3 separate regions of the Homo sapiens genome follow, and regions 1 and 3 are each linked to region 2. The links are contacts of gene promoters, found by promoter capture Hi-C in blood cells and fetal thymus (Javierre and others, 2016). All regions are on one chromosome and are shown on one strand. Each heading gives the region's core, a stretch centred on a gene start or on the middle of the fragment in contact. The rest is flanking DNA. Distances are from core to core; before and after follow the strand shown.

Region 1 (4,275 bases), core at 1,524-4,023, 600 kb after region 2:
AAAAATTGCCTGATACACTTGTGAAAGCAGTGTTTGGACACACACTCAGAGATTCTGATGAGAAGGTCTGGGTGGGCCACTGAATTTGCATTTCTAACTGGTGGATCAATGGTGCTGATGCTGCCCGTCCACCGTCCACATTTTGAGCAGTACTGATATTCTAAAGTGTCCCTTTTCACAGATGAGGAAACTGGCTTAGCTAAGTGATATGTCCATGTACACCCTGTGGACTAGGTAATGACATCTGCTCTGCCACTCCACAGGGCTGTTTTGCCACAGAAAACTCCTCTCTGATTCTTTAACCCACTGCTACCCTCATGCTTCTGAGCCTTTGTCTTCACTCTTCTCTCTGCCCCATGCCCACCCTCACAAACGTAACTGTCCTGTCGAGACCAAGCTCAGGCGTCAGCTCCATTTAAAGTATTTCCTGACCTCCTCAAATCTAAATTCTCCTTTCTGCAACAGTATCTGTACATACTTGTGTATAATGTGTATAACTGTTTGTCTGCATGCCTATCTTTGTTTTTCGATTTTTCGTTTTGTAAAAATGGGGATCTTGCTAGATTGCCCAGGCTGGTGTTGAACTCCTGGCCTCAAGTGATCCTCCCACCACAGCTTCCCAAAGTGCTGAGATTACAGGCGTGAGCCACGGAGTCCAAGAATTGCTTGAGCCCAGGAGTTTGAGACCAGCCTGGGCCACATAGTAAGACCCCATCTCTACAAAAAAAGAAAAAACAATTAATTAGCTAGGCTTGGTGGCATGTGCCTTGTAGTTCCAGCTACTCAGGAGGCCAAGATGGGAGGATTGCTTGAGCCCAGGAGTTCAAGGTTGCAGTGAGCTGTGATTGTGCCACCGCACTTCAGCCTGAGCAACAAAGCAAGACCTATCTTTAAAAAATTTAAAAAAGGAAACACAAAAGGAATGTAGGCCCGGCACAGTGTCCCACACCTGTAATCCCAGCAATTTGGGAGGCCGAGACAGGCAGATTGCTTGAGCTCCGAAGTTTGAGACCAGTCTGGGCAATATGGAAAAGCCCTGTCTCTACAAAAAAAAAAATAATAATACAAAAATTAGCCAGGCATGGTGGTGCACACCTGTAGTCCCAATTACTAGGGAAGCTGAGGTTGGTGGACCACTTGATCCTGGGAGATCAAGGCTGCAAAGAGCCGAGATCATGCCACAACACTCCAGCCTGGGCAACAGAACGAGAACTTGTCTTGGAAAAAAAAAAAAAGAATCCATGGATGGATCATAGATGGATGGATGGATGGATGGATGGATGGATGGATGGAAAGATGGATGGGTGGATGGGCAGGTAGATGTATGAATGGCTGGATGGGTAGATGAATGGTTGGGTGGAAGCATGAATGCGTGGGTGGGTAGATGGATGGATGGGCAGGCAGGTGGGTGGATGGATGAATGGATGGATGGACGGGTGGGTGGATTGGTGTGTGGATAGATGATGAGTGGATAGTTGGATGGGTGGATGGATGGATGGGTGGGTGGATGAATACTCCTCATGATCTATTGCTTGAAAATAATTTTCATGGCAAAGTTAAGACTAGACCCTAATTCTGCTAGAGTATATTCCATGGCTGTTTATGTTGGGGCATACCGAACATGCTAATGGTAGTAGTTATATTTTATTGTGTGTTGAGTGTGCACTTACATGGCAGGCTTTGTACTAAGCACTGCCACTAATCCTCTCAATAACCCCTTTATTAGCTCCATCTTTACTACAAGAAAATGGAAGCTCAGAAAGGTAGAGCAGCTTGCCCAAAACCACACAGCAAATCACTTCCTAGCCCATCTGATTCTGTGCCAATTGCCGGTCGCCTTTCCCACCCTCCACCAGGGTTTCTCACCCTCCCTGGCTCCACCCCACCTCTGCGGGCCCCCAGCTGGCCTCACCTCCATCAGCATAGGTCTCGGTGCCATAGCCGTCTTGCAGGCCATTGTTCCAGGTGCCCTCATACTTGGCACCGCTGCTTGAGCTCTGCCGGATTCCGTAGCGTCCCTTGAAGCCATGTGTCCACTCGCCCTTGTAGAGCCAGCGCCCCTTGGTCTCTATGCCCAGCCCATGCCGTTTGCCCTGGCTCCAGTATCCCTCAAAGGTGTTTCCGCTGGGCCAGGTGTAGACACCTGCCACCTCAAAGCCAAAGTTCCAGGAGCCAGAGTATTCGCCCTGGCCCTTGGGGCCTGTGCACAGTCCATGCCCATGGGCCTTTCCCCCCTCCCAGCCCCCGCAGTACGCCCCTCCATCATCAAAGTCGAAGCGGCCCCCACTCATCTCATCATAGCCCCTGACAACCTCCCCGTCCTCCAGCGTGGGTGCAGAGGGCGTGGGTGATGCCTGCAACACTCCTCCAGTGCCCTCGGGGGCAGGCCCCCAGACTCACCACTGCACCCCAGGAGGGGGGAAGCAGGATGCCAGCAGAGGCTGAAAGAGCCCCGGCGCCAAGTCAGCACCGGGTCGGCTAGTCAGTGCCATGCCCGGGAGCCCCGACTCCACCAGCCAGAGCAAGGCTGCCTGCTGGAAAGAAAGCAGGAAGGAAAGGTTCAAAGTCCCCACAAAGCGTCCCAAGTCTGCCTTCCAAGAAGTCCAAGGGAAAACGGTGTGATCTCTTTAAGAAGCCCAGTGAAAGGGTGGGGTGGAGGGGTCCCCAGCCTTTTCAAAGAGGGGAAATTCCCCTCGGTGGCAGCCCCCGCCGGAGGCTGAATTCCCGCAGCCCGCTGGCCCCCTTCTCCACCCCAGTGGGTGTGCGGGGCTGTCGGTCTCCCCGCCGCTGCCCCGCCCCCTTCTCCAATCCTGCCCTCCTTCTGGGACGGAAAGGTCAGTGTTGCCCTAACAAGGCCATTGGATCTCAGAAGCTGCTCCCAAAATAACCCCCAGCCAGCCCAGCCTTCTTCAAAGCGGGAAGGAGGGGTATTTCAAATCGCGCCCGTGCCGCAGACCCGGGCAGTGGCTGGAGGCATGAGGAAGGAGGCTGAGAACTGAGTGCAGGCAGCCCAGGGAACCTGGTGTCTTTTCCTCCCGGGAATGAGAGCTCCCTTCCATTCTCAGAGTCCCCTGGGTCTGCGCGCAGGGAGGGCACCGGGGAATCGGGGAAGGGAGGGGAGAGGGAGACCAGCAGAACACCCAGTCCTGGAACACTGAAAATCCCCCAGAGCGAGGAGGTTGGCAGATCTCAGCCCCATCACCACTCACATGCCCTAAGGGGACCTGGGGTTACAGCACCACTGCCAGCCCCATCAAGGAATCCAGTGACCTAAAGAGAAAGGAATGGAGACAGTTTCACATGTGCTTCCGAAAGCAGAGGAGGGAAGTCAGAAAGAGAGGGGAGGCTGTGGAAACAGGGTCTGGAAGATACACAGAATCTCAGTCCAGTGCTCACTCACCACCCTGAGCTCCCTCCACCCCTGGAAGCCGGGGAGAACTTGGTGCAAGAAGCAACCATCTATTCCCTTTCTCTTTCTCCTGAAGGGCAAAGAGAAGGGAGAGGAGCCTGCCCTCCTCTCTGCCTGAGACACAGACTGGGCGTCCCGCTAGCTTCCTCTCCCCACCCCTTGATGCCTCGGCGCCCTCCCTGCCCCCTGCCGCAGACCCAGCAGACCCTGAAGGTCAAAGGAGTCCCCTTCCTGTCAACACAGGGTTGTGTTGTAATGAGGTCCTCTCAGAAATTCTCAAGGGTCATGATTTTTTAAAATTTCCCTTTCTGAGCTGTCTTTTGCTCTAGTGTCCTAGGAGCCTGTGAGGCCAGACTTCAGAAAGCTCTTGGGGCAGGGCCAGGAGAGAAGGGCCTGGGTGGATTCCCAGCCACTCAGGTTCCCACCAAACTCCAGTAAAAAGAACAAATAAATCTCCATGGCAAGAAGCTGTGGCCAGAGCTAATGATTGTAAATCCCAGCTAAGCCCAAGGTTAATGGGAGTATAGAGGAATTCTGGGAAAGGTAAGAGCCACCAAGACTAGGAAGATCTGTGTGTGTGTGTGTCTGTGCGTGTGTGTGAACGTGTGTCTGTGAGAGTGTGAGAGAGTGTGTGTGAGTGTATGTGAGTGTGTGTGGTAAGAGTGTGTGTGTTTGTGTGTGTGTGGTAAGTGTGTGTTTGTGTGAGTGTGTGTGGTAAGAGTGTGTGTGTTTGTATGTGTGTGTGGTAAGAGTGTGTGTGTTTCCATGTGTGAGTGTGTGTGTGTGAGTGTGTGTGTGAAGATGGGGACAGAAGAGAAAGAGAGAACTAAGCACAGAAGGTACTAGAGAACATTAGACAATTATCT
Region 2 (4,159 bases), core at 392-2,891:
ACCAAAATACAGCATCCCCAAGAAGAGAACTTTTTTTTTTTAAGAGACAGAGTCTCACTCTGTTGCCCAGGCTGGGGTGCAGTGGAGCGATCATGGCTCACTGCAGCCCGAACTCCTGGGTTCCAGCGATCTTCCCACCTCAGCCTCCCAAGTAGCTAAGACTACAGGTGTGTGCCACCATGCCTGGCTAATTTTCTTTTTTTATTTATTATTACTATTATTATTGGAGAGAAAAGGTGTTACTGTTACCCAGGTCCCAGACTCCTGGCCTCAAGCAGTCCTCCCACCTTGGCCTCCCAAAATGCTGGGATTACAGGCAGAAGCCACTTCATCTGACCAAAGAGAATTCTCAAATCACCCTGTTCTCCACTTTCTTTTTGAGACAAGGTCTCACTGTGTTGCCTAGGCTAGAGTGCGGCGGCACCATGACGGCTCACTGCAGCCTCAACCTCCTAGGATCAATCAATCAATCCTCCCACCTCAGTCTCCCAAGCAGCTGGGACTACAGGCGCGCGCCACCACGCCCAGGTAATTTTTCCTATTTTTAGTAGATACCGGGTTTCGCCATGTTGCCTAGGCTGGCCTCAAACTCCTGGGCTAAAGAGATCCACCTGCCTCGGCCTCCCAAAGTGCTGGGATTACAGGAGAGAGCCGCTGCGCCCGGCCCGTCTCCACTTTTAAAATTTCCAGTGACAGAAATTGTGGAAAGCAACACGAGTTGTATGTGTTTTAATATCCTAGATTCGAAGACAAACATAAATGTAAATAAAAACTGTCAGAGCTCTCTGCAATCTTCAGTTTGGGTCTTCCAGGCTGCTGCAGCGTTGTTCACAAATCCACACACCTCTAAAGGCAGGCACAGAGCGCTTTCCTGGGTAGTCGGGTGGCCTGTTGGTAGTTGCAGGCTTCTGGTTTCCCATCTTAATGGCGATGGCAGGGCAACCTGTATTGGTGGTGCTTTTGCACAAGCAGTTCTTTCTGCCGGGAACGCCCTTCCCCAGCCTTTGCCTTAATGAATACCACTCTCTCTTCAAATCTCTGCTCAACAGGGGCGCCTTTTTGACCAGCTTAGTCGTTAGACTCCCTAATACAGTTCATAGTTTTCACATTTTTGTAGAATCTATTCAAGTTCTAACTCCCCGCCATGCTCGCCGGCGCTCAAGCCTAGTACCATGGCAAGCAAAGATGCGGAGTTAATAAAACAGAATTATACGGTTTATCATTCTCAACACTAAACCTGCGCACCCTTTTCCGTTAAGTAGTTCCTAATAGTCCAGCACAGCCTTCCGCCCGGCCCCGCCCTCGCCTGGCTCCACTCTGCTCCTGCGCTTTGGGAATCGAAGCTGGGGCGTTCTCCAACCCCCCCGCGCTGGAAGCCTTCACTATTCTCCTCCCTGTGGGTGGAGCGAAGTTTGGGCACTTGGGTCCTACCGTTGTTATTAGTCTTTACTCGTAATTGATACTAAAGAACAAAATTAAATGGGTTTATTTTTGGTGAAAAGTTAATTCTCCTTATGTTTGGATTTGCCCCTCATGCACCAAATGGTACAGCCCCACATCAGTCAGGCTGCCTACCCCTGACGCCTGCGACGGAGAGGCGCCTTCCGTGCTGTCGTCATCACGTCGGCCGGAGCTAGCGCTGCGTCCTGGGCCACGCCTCCCGGCGCACCGACGCGCCTCTCCGGTTACTAAGCGGCCTTGGATACCTGGCCGCGGGATGCTGGGCGGCGTCAGGTGAGCGGTGGTCGCTGGGCCTCAGGTAAAGGGCGCCAACAGTGGTGGGCCGGCTGGGGCGTTGGTGCGGCCTGGGAGCTGGCGAGGGACTCGCCGCACTCTTCGAGGCCGCTGGGCCGGTCATAGAACATCCAGGGTCCCCCGGGGTGAAGTAAACTGTGGGCGCGGACGTAGCCCGGGTTCCTGGCGCCCCGGCTGGGCGCCCATCTCCACGGCCTCGGGTGGTGCAGGTGTTTAGTCGTTCCGCTGACTATGAAAGAGCATGGGACGAGGAATCGTACAGTCTTAATCTCTCTTCTGTCGTGGCTGCGACCCCTCGGTATTCATGTGGGAAAATACTGATTTGACTGGTAATGTTATTGAAGAGAAAGCGAGAGAATGGTTTGGCAGCGTTACCCAAATATTTGTTATTTTTATAGTTTTAAAGGCCTTATACTATTATTAAGGAAATGCATTTCTGGCTAAGTCTGACAGTACAGGAACGCAGACCTGCTACTCTCACCAGGGGCTGAACTAACAGAACAAAAAAAGATAGATGTATCACGGTGGTGGGACCATGGAGGGGGCAGTTTTTCAACTGGACAAAATGATGTTAAAGTGCTTAAAGAAGGATAAATATGTGAAAGTAGCCAGGAAAATTCTAAAATTAATGCTAATAAGGGAGATTAGCTCTCCAGAACCACCAGATATTATAACATAAAGGTATAGCAATTAAACTAGCATAGAAGATGGGTGCAGCAGTGTGGGCCCGTAGTCCTGGCTACTTGGTAGGCTGAGGCGGCAGGATCCCTTGAGCCCAGGAGTCAGAGACCAGCATGGGTATCAAAAGGAAACCCTGTCTCTGAAAATAAATAAATTAATTTAAAAAGTTTGGGACTCAGCAGGAGCTTACAGGTAGATAAAATATATTAGAACTCAGAATAAGAGCGATTTATATATAGGGATTTATTATATAGGCGAGGTGGTACTGTATTTCAAATCAGCATTGAAGAGATGAATTGGGGTCAGGCAGCTTTTTTAGCAATTTAGAAAATAATTAAACCAGTCGAGCGAGGTGGCTCACACCTGTAATCCCAGCACTTTGGGAGGCCAAAGCGGGTGGATCACTTGAGGTCAGGAGTTCCAGACCAGCCTGGCCAACCTGGTGAAACACCGTCTCTACTATGGCGCGCGCCTGTAATCCCAGCTACTGGGGAGGCTGAGGCAGGAGAATTGCTTGAACTTGGGAGGCGGAGGTTGCAGCGAGCCGAGATTGCACCACTGCACTCCAGCCTGGGTGACAGAGCAAGACTATGCTTTGAAAAAGAAGGAAAAAAAAAAGGAATGAAGCCCATTTTGAGCACCACAATAATTTCCAAATGGACTAAAATTTAAATGTTAAAAAATTACATCACGAATTAGCCGGGTGTGTTTGGGCGCCTGTAGTCCCAGCCGCTTGGGAGGCTGAGGCACGAGAATCTCTTGAATCTGGGAGGCAGAGGTTGTGGTGAGCCGAGATCGTGCCACTGCACTCCAGCTTAGGCCACAGAGCAGACTCTCTCAAAAAAAAAAAAAAATTACATCATGAAGTACTGAAGTAAAGCATTGTTGAATTTATTTATAATCTTAGAATGACAAAAAACTCTTCTAAGTGTTTCATGTCATCCAGAAGCCAGGAAGGAAAAGATTCATACTTTTAACTCTATAAAATTTAAAATCTATATGGCCTGCAAAATTCAACCAAACCAAAAAAACTACCAGAAGCCAAATAAACTTATGAAAATGTTTGTTTAATGATCAATTAGAAAATTATGAAACCCGACTGGGTGCAGTGGCTCATGCCAGTAAACCAGCACTTTGGGAGGTTGAGGTAGGAGGATCACTTGAGGTCAGGAGTTCAAGGGCAACATAGCGAGACCTTGCTTCTACAAAAAATTTAAAAATTAGCTGGACACTGGTGCGCGCCTGTAGTCCCAGCTACCCATGAGGTTGAAGTGGGATGATTGCTTGAGCCTGGGAGGTCAAGGCTACAGTGAGTTGTGATTGCAGCACTGCACTCCCAGCCTGGGTCACAGAGTGGGACTTTTATCTCAAATAATAATAATAAGAAGAAGTTTTTAAAAAGAAAAATTTAAAGAGAAAAATGATCAAGAGTACCTGGACAAGAAAATCAGAAGAAATACAAGTGGCAAAAATCTATAGCAAGAGACAACTATCTCACTAACTTCAAAGTGGAAATTAAAACAGTAATGAGGGGGGTTTTTTGGCCCTTTATTGGCAAACATGACAAAGACTGGAAATAGGATTGTGTGGAAACAGAAGGGTGTTAGTGGAAATATAAATGAGTATAACTTTTTGGAGGGCAATTTGGAAATGATTTACTCAGCCATTCAATAGATAAGAATCTCTACAAATATGCAAATTGCAGAAAAACATGTTGTTTAAC
Region 3 (4,380 bases), core at 62-2,561, 510 kb after region 2:
GGAATCCAGGTGCTATGGTTTGAATGCTGCTGTCCCCCTCAAACTCATATGTTGAAGCCTCATTGCCAATGTGACAATATTAGGAGGTGGGGCTTTTGGGAGTGCTTAGGTCATGAGGGTTTCACCCTCATTAATGGGATTAGTGCCCTTATGAAAGGGGCCACAGAGAGCTGCCTTGCCCCTTCCACCATGTGAGGACACAGAGCGAAGGTGCCATCTGAGAGCCAGAAAGCAGTCCCTCCCCAGATATCACATCTGTTGGTGCCTTGATCTTGGACTTCTCAGACTCCCAAACCATGAGAAATAAATTGTTGTTTATAAGGTACCCAGGCTGTGGTATTGTGTTACAGAAGCCCAAAAGGACTAAGACAACAAAAATGAACAAAATAGGCACATCCCTAAGTGCACGGAGTTTACAGCCTACTGGCAAAGGCAGATAAACAATAACCACACTAATAATTGTATTTAACGGGTCTGAGACAGAGAGCTGTGTGCCAGGAATCATCCTGGAAGGATAGGTAGGGGTAAAATCAGAGTCCTCTCCATTCCCTCTCTTCCAAACTCACAATGCTTTTGTGTATTTTCACAGCCTCCTGCACATCCCTCTGTCCTGGCATGTTTAATGCCAGGCCATCAGGTAAGACATTCCAGGTCTTCTTTCCTGGAGTATAAGGACTATGCCTCTTGTATCTCTTTAATCCAAGTGCCCATGAAAGGTTCTGTAAGTCATTGACTTCCTTAAATATTTTAAAAAATAAATGGAGGAACAAAGAGGGAGAAGTTAAACCACCAACTGGGGAATGTCCAGGTGTTCATGTCTAAGAAAAGAGTAATCACTAGCTTTTCTCACTGTCTCTACCTGGATATAGGGACCCAATCCAAGTAGATACTAAGAAAGATAATTCTACTGGCTGATATTAGATAGGATTGGGGGGAAGAAAAGATGAGGAAAGAAGAGAACATGGGGAAAAAACTGAACTTGTGAAATGAAATAATGAGTGGAGTTGGAGGGAGGGTCCTTGGTGAGTATCAGTGCAGCCCAAAAGGATCAGGTAGTCTGAAGGGATAATGTCATCATGGCTGGAGACTGGACACTCATAGGAACCCCCTCCTCTGACTGTATTTTTCTCTGTGACTTCTCCTGCGGTGGTAGATTGGGATTTTATTCCCAATTCTTCACTCCGTATAAAAGAATAATACGGCCAGGTGTGGTGACTCATGCCTGTAATCGCAGCACTTTGGGAGACTGAGGTGGGAGAACAGTTTGAGCCCAGGAATTTGAGGCTGCAAAGAGCTATGATGTAACACTGCACTCCAGCTTGGGCAACAGAGTAAGACCCTGTCTCAAAGAAAAGAAATCATATGTCCACTTTTTTGTGGTAAGTACCTGCCTCTAGATTTGGAAGAGTTTACTTCCCCCACACCACTGTTGTTGGGCTCAGGCATGGGACTTGATTTGGCCAATAGGATCTAAGCAGACATGATAGGAGCAGAGGCTTTCATTCCTGCACTTCTGCCATCCACCGTAAGATAAACATGCTCCGTTGGCACTGGTCCCAACATGAGAAACAACTGGAGGAAACCTGAACCTTTCCCTTAGCCTGAAGCAGAGCCAACACAGTCAACCCACAGATCTATGAGCAAGAAAAAAAATGGTTGTTATCGTGAGGGTTGCTTGTCATGCAGTATTATCACAGCAATATTGCACTACTACACTTGCTTTCTTTTTTGAGAATTTCATTCCACTCTCCCTTTTCTGCTTAACTTTCATGTATCTCAAATGATGTTATAATTTCTTTTTATATTTCTGATGAGGCTCAGGGATCTCCTTTTCCCCTCATCCACATACCTAAAAACCACCTTGTGCACATAACCAATCCCACCCATTTGTAATGGGCTCTGTACAAAGGCCACATTAATTGCACCCCCCTCATCCACCACTCCCCCATTCCCACACACATACCCATGCTCTGCCAGGAAACCTCCTGTGTAGAGAAGCATCTGGGGTATGGGAAGAGCTTTGGTGTGTCAGAAAGATCTCAACAAAAGCATGAAGTTTAAGAGACATTGTGTAACCTGCCCTGGATCATACATTTTAACAGTTAGAATGTGTTTGGCCCCAAGTAACAAAAAACCTGATGAAGAGGGGCTTAAATCTTGAGAACAGTTATTGTTTACTTAACAAGAAGTCTGGTTGTAGATGGTTCAAGAGTTGATTCAGTAGCTTCAGAATCAACTGGGTTGGCATCTTGGCAATTCTCTTGACCTTCCTTTCATGGTTGTGAAATGGCTGCCACAGCTCCAAGCATCAGCACCCACGACCCCCAACCTGCATCCAAAAGCAAGAATAAGGGGGAAAGCCAAGGTAGCAAGAGAGACTTTGTTTGCTTTCATCTCTTCTTTTATCATAGAAGAAAGTCTTTCTCAGGAAACCCCAAGTGAGCTTTCCCTTATGTTTCGTGGACAATTACGTCTCCTGGATCACAAGGCTACTCCTAGATGCAAAGGAAGCTAGGAAATGAGTTTTGATCATGAGTTTTGCTCACGCCTCTGTAGTGGAGGCAGAGATAGGAGCAGGGTTAGGAATGGCTGTTGGGTATGTGGTAGAGAAAGAGAAGCATCATGCATTTATCCCTTCAAGAAGGACTTGCTTCTCTGCAGTGGGAAGTGTGGTCAGCAGACAACTTCCAGTTGTCAGTTCCTTCAGGGTCTGCCCCAGCTTCAGAGAGCTGTCTCACCCAAGGTCATGCCCTTCCCAGAGCAGCCCATACCCAGTTTATTAGTTCGTTTTCATGCTGCTGATAAAGACATACCTGAGACTGGGCAATTTATAAAAGAAAGGTTTAATGGGACTCACAGTTCCAAGTGGCTAGGGAAGCCTCACAATCATGGTGGAAGACAAGGAGGAGCAAGTCACATCTTACTAGATGGCAGCAGGCAAAGAGAGGAACTTGTGCAGAGTAACTCCTCTTTTTAAAATCATCGATCTCATGAGACTTATTCACTACCACGAGAACGGCACGGGAAAGGCTTGCCCCCATGATTCAATTACCTCCCACTGGGTCCCTCCCACAACGTGTGGGTGGGAATTTAAGATGAGATTTGGGTGAGAACACAGCCAAACCATATCACCCAGTAACAGAGCAAGGGAGGGGTATAAAAGCCCAATGGGAGATGCTCTACAAGCAATCCTTGCTCTGGAGCTCCCACTGGGTTGGACTTTGTCAGGCCTGCATCAAGTTAGACTTCTTCCTCTGCCCTGTTCTGCATTTTCCTCCTTCCTTTCACAGGTTTTGATCCCTAATAAACATCTTGCAGCTTAGGTGACTCTCAGTGTCTGCTCCTGCAGAATCCAATCAGTGATGGCATCTTCCACATACAGCAAAGAAGTGATATAGCCAGGATTAGAAACTAGGTCTGTCCAATTCCAAAGCCCCAACCCATCCCCACTCCCCAACCATACTGCCTCTTATGGCCACCATATCCATTTCCTCAATAAGCACTCACTGAATGTCTACTCTGCCCCGAGACCTAAGTGGGACAATGGGGATGGTACTACAGGCTGTACTGTCTTGTCTGTTTACCAAAACCCACATCCTTCTCTTCTCCCTGAGGACACATGTAGTCCGTATTTCCCAGCCTCCCTTGAAGCTAGTTGAGGCCAAACAACTGAGCTCTGGCTAGTGGAATATGAGCAGAAGTGATGTGTGCTGTTTTCCTGGTGAAAGTTTTTAGGAAGCAAATTCCATCCTCCATACTCTCTTTCCTTTTCCTTTGGCAGATGCAGAGACCAAAAAAGCCCTAGGATATGTAGAACCACAGATGGAAAAAACCTGGGTCCCTGAATCATTATGATGAGGGACAGCTATTCTATGACAAACTTATATGGTGTATAGCAATTATAAACTGTGGAGTCAATTACCTCAGCCAAGCTTACACTAACTAATGCATGGATATAGAGATGAATCACAGATAGCCCCTCTCTTAAGGAACTCAGTCTAGTGGAGAAGCTGTGGATAGGAAGAGATACAGGGTTGTGTAGTTAGCAACTGGGCCTTGAGGGAGAGGTCTGATTTTTGTCCTGGCTCCTAGGAAGTAATTTCTAAACCCTTAGGATATCCTGATTAACAGGAGTGTCTTTGTTATTCATGGTGGGCTCCTGGGACCACAACTCACAGCTTATGCTAACCAGATGGCTTATAGTGAGTGCTGGCCATGCCAGAAAAATCAACCACAGGGTTAAAAGATTGGGGCTTTGGGCTATGTGATGTCAGCCTGACCTTTGGGTGTGGGGAGGGGTATGGAGGTTAAGTTCAACCATGTGGGAAATGATTCAATCAATCACCTCTACATAATGAAGTCCCAATAAAAACTCTGGAC

Evidence for each region. The method cuts DNA at HindIII sites, captures the fragments that hold promoters and counts their contacts. A CHiCAGO score of 5 or more calls a contact.
Region 1: a contact is called between the fragment with the promoter of JPH2 here and the fragment with the promoter of IFT52 in region 2, in 4 of 17 cell types (M2 macrophages, M0 macrophages, naive CD8 T cells and 1 more). The highest score is 7.3, in M2 macrophages.
Region 3: a contact is called between a fragment that was not itself captured here and the fragment with the promoter of IFT52 in region 2, in 3 of 17 cell types (M2 macrophages, naive CD8 T cells and fetal thymus). The highest score is 6.9, in M2 macrophages.

What each region holds. Positions count from the first base shown.
Region 1 is chr20:44,184,415-44,188,689 of GRCh38, forward strand. JPH2 (junctophilin 2) reads right to left here and starts at 2,774. Exons shown (of 6, transcript NM_020433.5): 1 at 1,913-2,774. The coding sequence starts at 2,291. The HindIII fragment of the contact is 12,085 bases long and covers 1-4,275 here.
Region 2 is chr20:43,589,296-43,593,454 of GRCh38, forward strand. IFT52 (intraflagellar transport 52) reads left to right here and starts at 1,642. Exons shown (of 14, transcript NM_016004.5): 1 at 1,642-1,759. RefSeq lists an enhancer at 1,764-1,833. The HindIII fragment of the contact is 15,646 bases long and covers 1-4,159 here.
Region 3 is chr20:44,103,763-44,108,142 of GRCh38, forward strand. It overlaps JPH2 (junctophilin 2), which reads right to left. Exons shown (of 6, transcript NM_020433.5): 6 at 2,828-4,380. Among named protein-coding and RNA genes, the nearest start is that of JPH2, 81 kb to the right of the region's middle. The HindIII fragment of the contact is 5,238 bases long and covers 1-3,930 here.